4 separate regions of the Homo sapiens genome follow, and all the other regions are linked to region 4. The links are contacts of gene promoters, found by promoter capture Hi-C in blood cells and fetal thymus (Javierre and others, 2016). All regions are on one chromosome and are shown on one strand. Each heading gives the region's core, a stretch centred on a gene start or on the middle of the fragment in contact. The rest is flanking DNA. Distances are from core to core; before and after follow the strand shown. Region 1 overlaps RBM33 (RNA binding motif protein 33). Region 2 overlaps RBM33 (RNA binding motif protein 33). Region 3 overlaps SHH (sonic hedgehog signaling molecule). Region 4 holds the start of UBE3C (ubiquitin protein ligase E3C).

What was found. The method cuts DNA at HindIII sites, captures the fragments that hold promoters and counts their contacts. A CHiCAGO score of 5 or more calls a contact.
Region 1: a contact is called between a fragment that was not itself captured here and the fragment with the promoter of UBE3C in region 4, in 1 of 17 cell types (monocytes). The highest score is 6.6, in monocytes.
Region 2: a fragment that was not itself captured here is called in contact with the fragment with the promoter of UBE3C in region 4 in 2 of 17 cell types (monocytes and M0 macrophages); the score reaches 6.2 in monocytes.
Region 3: a contact is called between a fragment that was not itself captured here and the fragment with the promoter of UBE3C in region 4, in 2 of 17 cell types (M1 macrophages and megakaryocytes). The highest score is 5.1, in M1 macrophages.

Annotation. Positions count from the first base shown.
Region 1 is chr7:155,648,810-155,651,975 of GRCh38, reverse strand. The region is part of intron 1 of RBM33 (RNA binding motif protein 33); the gene reads right to left. Among named protein-coding and RNA genes, the nearest start is that of RBM33, 5.7 kb to the right of the region's middle. The HindIII fragment of the contact is 3,307 bases long and covers 1-2,918 here.
Region 2 is chr7:155,771,781-155,775,129 of GRCh38, reverse strand. RBM33 (RNA binding motif protein 33) reads right to left here. Exons shown (of 18, transcript NM_053043.3): 17 at 483-571; 18 at 1-137. The coding sequence ends at 89. Among named protein-coding and RNA genes, the nearest start is that of SHH, 39 kb to the left of the region's middle. RefSeq lists an enhancer at 1-214. The HindIII fragment of the contact is 4,227 bases long and covers 1-3,349 here.
Region 3 is chr7:155,802,178-155,805,287 of GRCh38, reverse strand. It overlaps SHH (sonic hedgehog signaling molecule), which reads left to right. Exons shown (of 3, transcript NM_000193.4): 3 at 1,562-3,110. The coding sequence ends at 2,388. Among named protein-coding and RNA genes, the nearest start is that of SHH, 8.7 kb to the left of the region's middle. RefSeq lists an enhancer at 1-122 and a silencer at 29-208. The HindIII fragment of the contact is 9,246 bases long and covers 1-3,110 here.
Region 4 is chr7:157,137,676-157,141,043 of GRCh38, reverse strand. It overlaps UBE3C (ubiquitin protein ligase E3C), which reads right to left and starts at 2,118. Exons shown (of 23, transcript NM_014671.3): 1 at 1,706-2,118. The coding sequence starts at 1,771. RefSeq lists silencers at 1,487-1,556, 1,607-1,996, 2,277-2,626. The HindIII fragment of the contact is 7,086 bases long and covers 1-3,368 here.

The sequences.
Region 1 (3,166 bases), core at 16-2,515, 1.5 Mb after region 4:
GAGTTCCTACACCATGTTGCTTTAGAAATAATTTGTAGTCACTGTTTTAAAAATCTCCTATGTTACACGGGCCCCAGGAGAGGTTCTCCCTAAAATGAAGTTTTTATTTTGTTTATGAAGTGTAGTCCTCATTGGTCATTTGTTTGTCTTTCAACAAACTTTCATCATTCAGGGTTTAAAAATCAATCATAATAGAATTCCTGCTTGATATGAGATAGGACCCCTCCTATTATGGAAGTTATAAAGGCTTGCTCTATAAACTTGGGTAGCCGAGAAGAGGCAAGTGAGCTGAGCTCAGCCTACTGGATGTTCCCATCATGACTTAAAATCTATAGGAACTGACACTCATTTCTTTTCCCAGGAACCTAGACCCTTTTTTTTTTTTTTTTTTTTGGTGAGACAAAGAGTTTCCCTGTTGCCCAGGCTGGAGTGCAGTGGTGCGATCTCGGCTCACTACAACCTCCACCTCCTGGCCTAGCCATGAAGCCTTCTAAATGGCTGAGTTTAAGGGATGAAATGTCAAACAAAGAGGAGAAAATGTTGTTAAAAACTTCTAGAATGAAAAAAGGTCACATAAAAAATGATTAGGAATCAGAATGTCCTCAAACTTCTCAAGAGCAGATCTGGATGCCAGAAAACACAACAATACCGCCAAAAATCTTACAAAAATAAACTCAAATCTAAAATTCTGGACCCAACAAAACCACCAATCAAGTTGTGAAAATTAAAATTTCCTTCAGACTCAGGAGTCTCAATCTCAAAAAATTTACCTTCAACACACACACTCAAGAAGCTGTCGGCCAGGTGCAGTGGCTCACGCCTGTAATCCTAGCACTTTGGGAGGCCGAGGCGGGCAGATCACCTGAGGTCAGGAGTTCCAGACCAGCCTGGCCAACGTGGCAAAACCCCGTCTCTACTAAAAATACAAAAATCAGCTGGGTGTGGTAGCATGTGCCTGTAATCCCAGCTACTTGAGAGGCTGAGGCTGAAGAATCGCTTGAACCCAAGAGGTGGAGGTGGCAGTGAGCTGAGATCACACCACTACAACACTCCAGCCTGGGCGATAGAGCGAGAGTCCGTCTCAAAACAAAAACAACAACAACAACAACAAAAAGAAGCTGTGGCATTGCTTAACTCTATATCAATGTGGAAATCTGAACATAAAGAATAATTTTTCTAGGAAAATTTAAATGATCGTAATTGACTTTTCATCTTATAAAACTAAATAAATCAATAATAATACAGGAAATTGAAAAGATAACTTTTTTAAAGGGAACCAGACCCAAATGGCTCTGGAGAAAAGAGTTCTTCCACAGTCAATAACAGATTTTTACACCATCCCAGAAAATTTCACAACTCATTCTAAAAACCAACATATCATAAATAAAAGGATAGCACAAATGTACACACAAATACCAAGGAAGAAAACAGTAAGTCAGTCTCCCTTATGATCAGAGATAAATCCTAAAATGAAATCCAACAATATATTAAAAAGAACAAAATGTGGAGATCAAGATTTTGAACCCCAGAATGCATGCTTAGTTCAGCACTGGAAATCTATCAATAGATTACATTAAGAGATTAAAGAACAGGGGAAGAACACATAATCACAACAGATGCAGAGAAAGCGTTTCACAGCTCAGAGGCAGCACTGGGGATGGCAGTCAGTGCTCCTGGTGCAGTGATGCTAAAGGGGTCAATAAGAACCTGTCCTCAAAAAATTGTGATTGTGCATTGTGACCTGAGCTGAGGAATCAGCTCAGAGACCACCCCTTCAGAACTCTCTCAGAGCTAGAGCGGCATCCCAGGCAGTGCTTGTCAAAAGCATTTAAAGACATCCACTAACCAGGGTCACCTGGGGCAAGGGATGATGGCCAGGGTTAGCAACATACAAACTGAAAAGCCTGGGAAAGAAGAGGCTGAGGAGGAAAATATATGAAGGAATGAGAGTGTTGGGGGCTCCCATGTATAATGGGAAATCTGGAAGACCATGCATATGCTGAAGGCTGGGCACATGCTCAGAAAACAACTTGAAAGAACCCTAGATTTATACCTCTGGCTGATCTTTGAGCTACGCATATGCAGAAGGTGAGGCTAAGGTTGGGGTTATAGGTGGCCTGGATGAGCAATGAAGTAACGTAAGCACAGGAGTTTTTGTTTGTTTTTTGGTTTTGGTTTTGTTTTATTTGCAGCTCCAGCCATTTGAGGACATCTCCATCAGATCACTGGCTGGGCAATGATACAACACAATGGAGACATCAGTGACCACAGGAGACAAGGAATAGAGTCTCTTCATTTGGCAAGTCATTAAAAAACCAGACAACTGAAGGCCACAACAAGAAATATAGCAAACCCAGAAAAGGGGGGGGACATTCTGACTTCCAAAATTTCCACATCACCATATTTAAAATGTCCAATTTTCAGTCCCAAAACTGAGGGACCGAAAAAATCAAGCTAACATGATTTAATCAGTTACACAGGTGAATCATGTGGAATTGACTAACATAAATTAGGATACAATTATATTTTTTCAGATTCATACAGAAAATATGTCATTCTTTAATTCATTCACCAAATATCTAACACATGCTATGTGCCAGGAAGATGTGGAATGCATGGTAAAACAGCATTTTTTCTCCTCATGAGGCTTACAGGCTTATGTGGGAGGCAGATTTAAAAAACAAGTAAATAACTAAAGAAAATTACAAATTGAGATAAACGTTCTGAAGAAAACAAGGGTGCTATAGGTGAGGAAACAGGAAAATATTGAAATTATCCAGTCTAAGGAGCAGAGGAAAAATAAGCAGAGCCTTAAAAAACGGGGACATCATTAAAAGTACCAATCTATGCATTATGGGAGTCCCAGAAGGAGAAAACAAAGTAGCAGGAAAAAGAACTGGAGAAAAAAATAAAAAGCTTCCAAATTTGGTGAAAGACATGAACCTACATATTCAAGAAGCTCACCACTCCAAGCAGGATAAATCTGGAGACCCACACAGAAACACATTATGATCACACTATCAAAAGCCAAAGACAAAGAGAATCTTGAATACACCAAGAGAGAAGTGACATGTCATGTACAAAGGATCCTCCATAAGATTAACAGTCAATTTCTCATCAGAAACGATGGAAGCCAGAAGGTGATAGGATGAAATATTTCAAACTG
Region 2 (3,349 bases), core at 508-3,007, 1.4 Mb after region 4:
CTCCTGGGGGTTCTGCGCCGGCCGGCAGCTCCCTTGAAGAAATTCCACAGTGTGTGTACAGCCTAAGGTCAGGCTCTCTTGTTAGGACTCACTCCACGATCAGGGCCACATTTATGTGGGACAAATCTATCATATGCCTGTGAAAATTTAAAGAAACGATCGACACTAACCCTGCACATCGGCAATCAACCTACCAAGGTGGGAGGAAACTAAAAGAGCCCGGTGGGTCCTGTTTAATAAAAACGCATCATATAAAAAGGCAGATTCCCCGGGAAGATCTATTAAAACACAAGGGGCAATTCTCCACCAGACAAAAGGACGCGCGCCTCATGACAGGATCACCGTCTGCGCTTTGTGCCCTAGTGTCCTTCTACAGGAACAGGTGGGGACACACGCTTGCTACCATGATGGATGGGAGGGCACAGGAAGGAGGGCCTTGCTCCCGCCCCCTTATCACCACAAGCACAGAACACACTGGTCACCTGTGGAATTTCTGCTGAAATGCTAATGCGTGGGCTGGCTCCTTGAACTTAGCTATGGCTTTCCGTTGCTGAGGAAGCATCTGTAAACTCTAGAGGAAGAAAACAAACACTTTAAGATCAGTTGTAAATGACAATAAAAAATATGAATATATATATTTAAGCATTATTAGTTTTAACACAAAATGAGTCCAGGCGGACATTTGGAACACACTAATTGATTTTCCTTTCTAGCTCCCTGGCAATTTGTCTTACTTATCTAGATAATCTACTCCAAAACAGTGCTTTACTAAATCATTCCCAACAGCAACAGTTACATCTTCCAAGCCTAGTGTTAAGGCCTCCCATCATCTGGCCCCATCAGCTGCCCCAACCTGCTCTGGGAGACCGGGTAGCAGGTACCCTTGGATAGAGACATCTCCTCTTCTCACGCCTTCTTATCAGGTGATTTTTAATAGGGACCCCCATGAATTTTTTAAGAACAGGACTCATCACACCAGAGGAAACTGTTTAGTATGGGGGCCCCACAGCCCACAGTAGGCAATGGCCCCTAGTCTACCATCTCTGTGCATCTGGCTGGGCCATGGTGAGGGCAGTGGTGCCTGGGGCAGACATCAGCATAACGTGGTCACATTTTGTACTTTAAGAGTTTGTGAACACCAGTCTTAAACAGTGGTATCTGAAATGAAGTCGCCACCCACTGGCCTAAAACAATGCCAGTGAAAAAGAAATGAATTTATGAAGATTGGCCAAAAGAAATGATGAATCCAGTAAAGATTTACAGAGGAAGTGTTTGCAAAGCGAAACTTACATCTAGTCCTCAAATCTGCTGCCTGAGGAAGAGGGGGAGCTGCTTTCTGCTTTCTTAAGCCTTTAGGATCTAGAGCTGGGAGGGGCAGGCAGGAGGAGAGCACAGCCATCTGTGGATCTGTTCAGTGGCGCTCTGTGAACTCTCAAGCAACTCAAAGCTCTAGAGTCTGGTTCTTCTCAATTACCTCAGGACACAGTCAACTTAGTACCTGCTGTCTGGAGCACGCACAGGAGCCCCTGACTCCTTTTTTTTTTTTTTTTTTTTTTTTTTTGGAGATGGAGTCTCGCACTGTTGCCTGGGCTGGTGTGCAATGGCAGGATCTCAGCTCACTGCAACCTCCACCTCCTGGGTTCAAGTGATTCTCCTACCTCAGCCTCCCAAGTAGCTGGGATTATAGGCACCCATCACCACGCCCTAGCTAATTTTTTGTATTTTTAGTAGAGACCGGGTTTCACTATGTTGGCCAGGCTGGTCTCAAACTTCTGACCTCATGATCCGCCTCTGCCTTGGCCTCCCAAAGTGCTGGGATTACAGGCATGAGCCACCGCACCTGGTGCCCGATTCTTCTAAGAACAGGTGTCCCTGGGCAGGTCCTGGCATGGGCACCAGCAAACACTGTCCTGAAGGACTGCATTCAGCAGGCACTTTTGGTGGCCAGAAACTATTTGCTGTGTCTGAGCTTCTGTTCAGTGAAACAGAATAGCTAGAGAAAATAACTAACTACCAGCACATGATCCCTTGAAAATACTGAGGCACATGTGGCCATTTCATTTTAAAGCATGTCAAAGAGCTACAATGGAAGCAAACAGCTAAAAAACATCAGTGACTTGGAAAGTGTTTTAAAAAGTTACACTGTATATGAAATAACTGCTCTCCATTTTAATAACTATAGAATGTCTATCAGTAAACAAGACTAGCAGAGCTCTAAAAGAATACTCAAACACTCCCGAAAAAGGTGTCTTCCAGTGCTTCTACAACAGCGTTTACACAGAAATACAAAGGTTCAAGTCTCCAAATTCAAGGGCATCAAGAAGGCCTGCGCACAGGCTACCCCAGAAGCATCGGCCCTGGTCTAGGGACATCACTGAGACAGGCCAGCAATGAGGCAGCCCACTAGGCAGTAACGGAATTGGTCTGTTTTTTTCTGAAACAAGTTCAGTAAAATATCAGACTTTCTCCCTTCTTTCTGAAATAAAAAATGAATACAAAAGAAATTTGATAGTTTCACTTGTCATTAAGTTAACAGGAAAAGTAAAGCCCCACAACGTGGTCTCCTGGATACATTCTCAGCAATATGGCTTGCAATATGGCTTTCTGGACTTTGAAATTCCGCCTGTATTTCTTGACAGAGACCTGTTTTCTCTCCCAATCTGCCAGACTCATATTTCAGCATGCACCCCTTTTGTGTATTAGCCTGTGAATGATACTCAGTCACTGAAACAATAGAGCAACTTCCAAAGAGAAAATCCTATCTGTTCTGTTCCCAGGTAAGGGGCTGTGTGGAGTGAGTGTCACTTGTCCATCCCAGCCTAACCCTAACCCTAACCTAACCCGAACCTAAACCCTAACCCTAACCTAGGTTAGAGCTGCTGCAGCCGTGCCTCCGGGGTTCTCTCCGTTCTTCCGGCAACAGCACCAGCATGCTCAGTGCTCCAGGATCCTGGGGGGTTTAAACAACACTCAAAAGTGACTGAAACAGTTTCACACAACAGCTGCCAATACTGCAGCAGAGCTTACTGTGAGAACTACAATAATGGACCTTCTCTAAACTTATCTTGTCTAAAAATATAAAAATTCCTTCATTAAGAATGGATAAGGAAAATTTCATATATCATAAAACAATGATCAACATTCTGCAATTCACAGATAGAATCTGGATTTTGGAAGTACTATACTCAAGTGAGGGCCTGTCTCCACAAAAAAAAATCAAAAATTAGCCAGGCCCAGTGGTGTACACCTCTAGTCCTAGGTACTCAGAAGGCTGAGGCGGAAGGATCCCTTGAGCCCAGCAGGTGGAGGTTGCAGTGAATCATGATCACAGGATCATACCACTGCACTC
Region 3 (3,110 bases), core at 288-2,787, 1.3 Mb after region 4:
AGAGCTCCCGGCTGCAGGCAGGCAGGAGGCGGCGCCCCCACCTCGCGGGCTCGGCGGCGGCCCCTGGGCCCAGGGCGCCCCCTGCGCAAAACCTCCTCCCCGGCTCCCTGCCCGCGGGGTCCCCCTAGCGGGGGTCTCCGGAGGCCTCCTCCCAAGTGAGCAGCGCTAATCCATCCCCCGGATCGCGCCGGGAGAGCGGAGCCGCGGCGCGGGAGCCGCTCATTGGCATTCTGAGCACACGGGCGGGGGCGCGGGGCGCAGCGTGTCAAGCCGGGCCGTGCGACTCGACGACTCGGGCTCGCCAGCGCCCGGGGTCGCATTCCGGGGGGCTACGGAGGGCCTCCAACGGCCAGCCCCGCACTTCATGCCAGAGAAACCGATGAGAAGATTAAAAGCCCCCTGTAATTCCAGCAGGAAGATTCTTTCTGGCAATCTCTATTTGCAAAAAGCATGATCCCGGAGATTGGAATGCAAAGAAGACGGCCCTCCCCGCCCTCCTCCCCGGCCCCCTGCGCTCCGCCCCAACTTCAATTATTGTCCTGGGGACAGTGAGCCTCAGAGAGCGACAGAGGGCTCGAGAAAGCGGGTAGTCAAGGGGCCTTGAGACCCGGCGCTTCCAGCGCTCCGAACAGGCCCCGCCATTTAAAATTCAAATACACATCTTGAGTGCTTGGAAGAGAGGCCTGGCTGTGCAAATAGTGCTTGTGAATTGCACACGGGGTGGGGGGGGGTTGCACCTGAGCAAATAGGGAGGGGGAGGCCCGCGAGCTGGGGAGAGAGTGAGCTGAGAACAGGGAGGGGAGAAAATGGAAGTGTCCCCTTCCAAGAGTGTCTCCTGTTTATCCCAGAAATCACAATGACAATGCTGGGCCCTTTATTGGATTTTAATTAGAAAATCCACACAAGCCTCGGATTTTCACACCTCGGCCAATCTCTGGAATGTTTGTCCAGTTGCTACAACTACTGCAGCTATTTTTCACTCCCCGCCCCCGCCCCTCCGCAGGCCCACGCCGAGGCGCGGCAGGGTGCTGCGGGCAGGCGGGCAGGCGGGCAGGCGGGCCAGGGGTTTCCGCCGCGCAGCCCGGGTGCTGAGTGCGCGAGCAGGCGCCGCGCCCCGCGCCGGGGCGGGAGGGAAGGAGGGTGCGCCCGGCGCCCGCGGGAGCTCAAGGAGGCTTCCTGAGGAATCCAAGTGCAGAGCAAACACCCTCTGGATGGATTCGCGGCGAGGCCGGGTGTGTGCGGAGCTGGGGGTGGGGTTGGAGGAAGGCGGAAGGAAAGAGTGTCACCGGCCTCTGCAGGAAACGCCAGCCAACCTCTGTGACCGCCAGCCCAGACTTAGAGAGTCGTTAAGGAATGTGTCGGAATCCTGTCCCTGGGGCAGTGGGGTTGGGGGAGGGAGGTGTGTGCGGGACCCGCCTGGAATCAATCGCCCCGCCCCGCGCCTTGCGCACCCCTGGCCTAGGAGCGCGGGCACCAAGCGTGCGCCCTCCTCCCCGAGACGCGCCTCCCTCTCGGAACTCAATGCCCTGTCCTCTCTTCTTTCCCTTCTCCTCACCCGCAGAGAACTCGGTGGCGGCCAAATCGGGAGGCTGCTTCCCGGGCTCGGCCACGGTGCACCTGGAGCAGGGCGGCACCAAGCTGGTGAAGGACCTGAGCCCCGGGGACCGCGTGCTGGCGGCGGACGACCAGGGCCGGCTGCTCTACAGCGACTTCCTCACTTTCCTGGACCGCGACGACGGCGCCAAGAAGGTCTTCTACGTGATCGAGACGCGGGAGCCGCGCGAGCGCCTGCTGCTCACCGCCGCGCACCTGCTCTTTGTGGCGCCGCACAACGACTCGGCCACCGGGGAGCCCGAGGCGTCCTCGGGCTCGGGGCCGCCTTCCGGGGGCGCACTGGGGCCTCGGGCGCTGTTCGCCAGCCGCGTGCGCCCGGGCCAGCGCGTGTACGTGGTGGCCGAGCGTGACGGGGACCGCCGGCTCCTGCCCGCCGCTGTGCACAGCGTGACCCTAAGCGAGGAGGCCGCGGGCGCCTACGCGCCGCTCACGGCCCAGGGCACCATTCTCATCAACCGGGTGCTGGCCTCGTGCTACGCGGTCATCGAGGAGCACAGCTGGGCGCACCGGGCCTTCGCGCCCTTCCGCCTGGCGCACGCGCTCCTGGCTGCACTGGCGCCCGCGCGCACGGACCGCGGCGGGGACAGCGGCGGCGGGGACCGCGGGGGCGGCGGCGGCAGAGTAGCCCTAACCGCTCCAGGTGCTGCCGACGCTCCGGGTGCGGGGGCCACCGCGGGCATCCACTGGTACTCGCAGCTGCTCTACCAAATAGGCACCTGGCTCCTGGACAGCGAGGCCCTGCACCCGCTGGGCATGGCGGTCAAGTCCAGCTGAAGCCGGGGGGCCGGGGGAGGGGCGCGGGAGGGGGCGGGGCGGGGCAGCAACAGCAACGCAAAGCAAAAAGACACTCGGAAAAGGCGCACGAACCAGACTGAGTTATAATAAGAATAAGAATAATAAAGTAGGACAGTCCAAAGTAGACTCTAAGGAAACAAGGACCCCGGGAAGTTTTGTTGTTGTGCTTAGTTGATATATATTTTTTGAATTTTTTTGGTTATTGTTTTATTTTGGTTATTTTTTCCTCCTCTCCTGGCTATTTATTTGTTTGGTATGAATAGATGTTTTAAATAATATGAACCGGACCTTCAAGAGCCTTAAATAGTTTGTTTCTTGGATAATTTATTATGATCATGTGAACTGTACTCACGGGGGAAAGATTATTTTGTGAGGCCAAGCAACCTGCTCAGAGTCTATTTTTCTACATGTCCCTCGTCCCGGCTGTCAGAAAGCAAACCTCTGTCCCCGCCATCCCTCCCTTCCATCTCCTGCTTCTCAGCAAGTGCAAACTCAAACGTGCTTCATGGGGGTCCACAAATTATATTTTTATACACAGAATTGTAAATTAGATTTTTTGAGAGATCAATACTTAACTGAATTACATTTCATTTTTGAAATAGTGTAAAATATGAAAATATATTATTTTAATTTAACTAGTTTCCGATGTAACAGCCATCTCCTCTGTTGTCTTTATGGTTTCATATTCCCTTTGTATTCAC
Region 4 (3,368 bases), core at 869-3,368:
GGGCCAATTGTAGCATGCTCCTGGTGAGATGGGGTTAACGCTAGCCTCCAGCTGAGACGCCTTTTCCTTCCCTACCCAGCTTCCCTCTCGCCCTTCCTCCTCAATTTCACTTGCACAAGGATCTCTTTAGTGTTTGTGAACCTGACTGTATCTTAAGTTATACCTCAATAAAAAGAGTTTTGTTTTTAAAGGGGTGATTCTTTTACACAGCTCGTGCTATCTTCCCTTGAGATTCTGATCAACAGTTAAGAAATCTCACTCCCTCAGAGCAGAGATGCACTCCTTGGTGAAAAGGGACCAACATCCGTGGCCCGTGGGGTGTTCCTGCCTGCAACAGAGGCCGCGCGGCGCTGTGTAAATGGCATGGAGTCTCAGATGGTCTGCCACTAGCTTGCTGTGTGAATGGGCACTCCTTCAAATGTTCTGCAGCTCACCTTCCGAACTTGTAAGCAAGGCGATTTGGCCCTGAGATTCTCTGAAGTCTCTCCTAACTGTAGAAATCCTTTGATCTCATAAAACATTTTCATTAACGTGGAAGACCCTAAGTGCTACCACGACCACCCTTAACTGCACAGTACTTAGTTCTGGAGCACAAGTGACTTCCAAGCAATCACCATCACACGAACCTCAAAGCTGAAAAATTATCAGCACACTTCTCTCCCAACTCTTTACCCAGGTTCCCTTCTAACCTCAGAAACCACCAAACACAGCCCCACAGCACAATCTTAATAACAGCAGTTCCTCCTTGGCCTGCCAGCACCCACTCTGCGTTATGTGCCTACCTGGTGGTTGTGATATACAGAATATACTGATAGACAAGAAAAACTAGGTGAAGCATTTTAAAGAACATTTCAGAAATGATGGGAAGGGGTGGGAAGGGAGGGGCGGGAACAAGACCACACAGTGTTCAACGACTTAGCGGTTCCAGTGAACCAACTGATGCCCGTCTTCAGGGACAGACAGCTAGAAATTCTAGACTAGAACAGAGGCGTCATGGTTTGCCTACCCTTATCCTAAACAATTACCATGCGAACAACTTAATGTCGATCACAACAGATGTAAGTCCGGAGTCTCTCCACAGTTTCCAGGAGGCTGGTGGCAAATAATTGCCCTCGTCTTGGATTCAAACACGTGGCTATTCATGAGACGTTCTGCCTCTACTTTAGAGATTATCGACATCAGCAAATGCGTGCCGTTCACCTTCTACAACCGAAAACGCCCTTCAGGTGGCATTCGAAAAGCAGCCACTCCCTGATGCCATGCGGGAGCGAGCATGGAAAGCGCATTTCTGAAAGGAAACACCCAGAAAGGGTAAGTTCACCTTGGGTGGCACAAAGCGTGCCAGGGTTCACCGGCCTCCTGCATGGAAGGGAGCCACGGCCAGCGCGCCCGGGTCCCGAAGCGCAGTGGACAGGCAAGGCCCCCACGGGCGCGGCCTCGAGTTCCAGCCAGGGAGGCCCCGAGTCCAGTCCTAAGCCCCAGCCAGAGTCCTGGCCCCAAGTCTCGGCTCCGAGTCCAACCCCGAGTCCCGGCCGGAGCGGCCCCGAGATCCGGCGAGGAAGCCCCGAGTCCCCGCCAGGGAGGCCCCGAATCCAGCCCCAAGTCTCGGCCCCGAGTCCAGCCCCGAGTCCAGCCCCGAGTCCCAGCCCCGAGCCCCGGCCGCGCAGGCCCCGAGCCGAGGGCGCCCCGCCAGCCCGGCCCTCACCTTCCTGCTCGCGCCGCCAAGGGACACCTTGGGCCGCGTCTTGAAGTCGCCTTCGAAGCTGAACATCCTGGCAGCCTAGCCCATGTGCGGGCAGCGCCGCCGCGGAAGCAGCCGGGCGGGCGGGGCACGGGGCGGGCTGGGAGGCTCTCGGCGCCCGCCCGCCCGGCCCGGGGCAGCGAGGACGCGGCGGCCGGGAGGCGACCCGAGCCCGCCCCCGGGCTGTACCCTCCCAGCCCTGCCCTGGGGCGGGAGGGGCGGCAATACTGGAGGGGCGGCCCTGCCTCGCCTGCCCCTCATCCACGCCGGCCACAGCTCGGGCCGCTGCAGGGGCGCCCAGCGGGCAGCAAACCCGGCGCTTGCACCTGGAACTGCCGCCTCGGGAGGGAAGATGGCGGTCAGCCGTCAGTGCGTGCGCGGCCCTGCAGACGTGCGCGGCCCTGCAGACGTGCGCGGCCCTGCAGACGTGCGCGGCCCTGCAGACGTGCGCGGCCCTGCAGACGTGCGCGGCCCTGCAGACGTGCGCGGCCCTGCAGACGTGCGCGCCTCCGCCATTGACGGCACGGCGCTCTTCCCGGCGGTTCCGCTAGCGTGCGCGGCCCCGCAAGGCGCGCTGGAGCCTGGGGAGGACGGCGGTGACGCGGGCTGGGCACGCGGCGGAGTGGGCGGGGCCTGGTGCGTGCTGGGGGAGCGCGGCGAGGGGCGCGGGAGGTGTTGGGTGCGGGGCAGGGTGCGGGAAAGGTGGAGTGCGAGGCACGGGCCGGGATGGGGTGCAGGGCAGGGTGCGGGGTGCAGGGTGGGGTGCAGGGGCCGGCACCCGGAGCGGGCTGGGAGCGGCCAATCTGGTGCCAGACTCGAGTGAGGCGGGAAAGGAGCAGCTAGGCCCAGCCCGTCTGTTTACATCCCACCTGTTCTATGTCTATGACACGCACAGACGGACGTAAATATTTACCATGTACACAGACATGCGCAGATTTGCCTCATACATAGCACACATATGCATCTATAGATACAGCATCAATACATATAAATATGTATCATGTACACATACCTGTGTATGCAAAAATATTTGCTCCTGGACTTACCATGGGGCTTTGTCCTGATAAACCCATCGTAAGATGAAAATATTGTAAGTTGAAAATGTATTTAATGCTACAATAAACCCATCACAAAGTCAAAAAATTGTAAGTTGAGCCATTTTAAGTTGGGGACCACCTATACATAAACATGTGTCTTATATCCACACATACGTATACATAATATCTCATATACATGTGCATATACATATATATCATACACGATTGAAACCAATTTCTAAAAATTGATTTTTGGTTGTATACAAGGTGTGCAACATGATGATTTCATAGAGACATTGTGAAATGACTACCCTCTTTGTGTGTGTGTGGTAAGAGTACATAAAATCTACTCTCTTAGCAAAATTTCAACACACAATACGATATCATCTACAGTCGTCCTGCGGCCGAGCACGGTCGCTCACGCCGGTAATCCCAGCACTCTGGGAGGCCAAGGCGGGCGGATCACCTGAAGTGAAAAGTTCGAGACCAGCCTGGCCAACATGGTGAAACCCCATCTCTAATAAAATACAAAACTTAGGCCGGTGTGGTGGTGCACGCCTGTAGTCCAAGCTACTCTGGAGGCTAAGGCA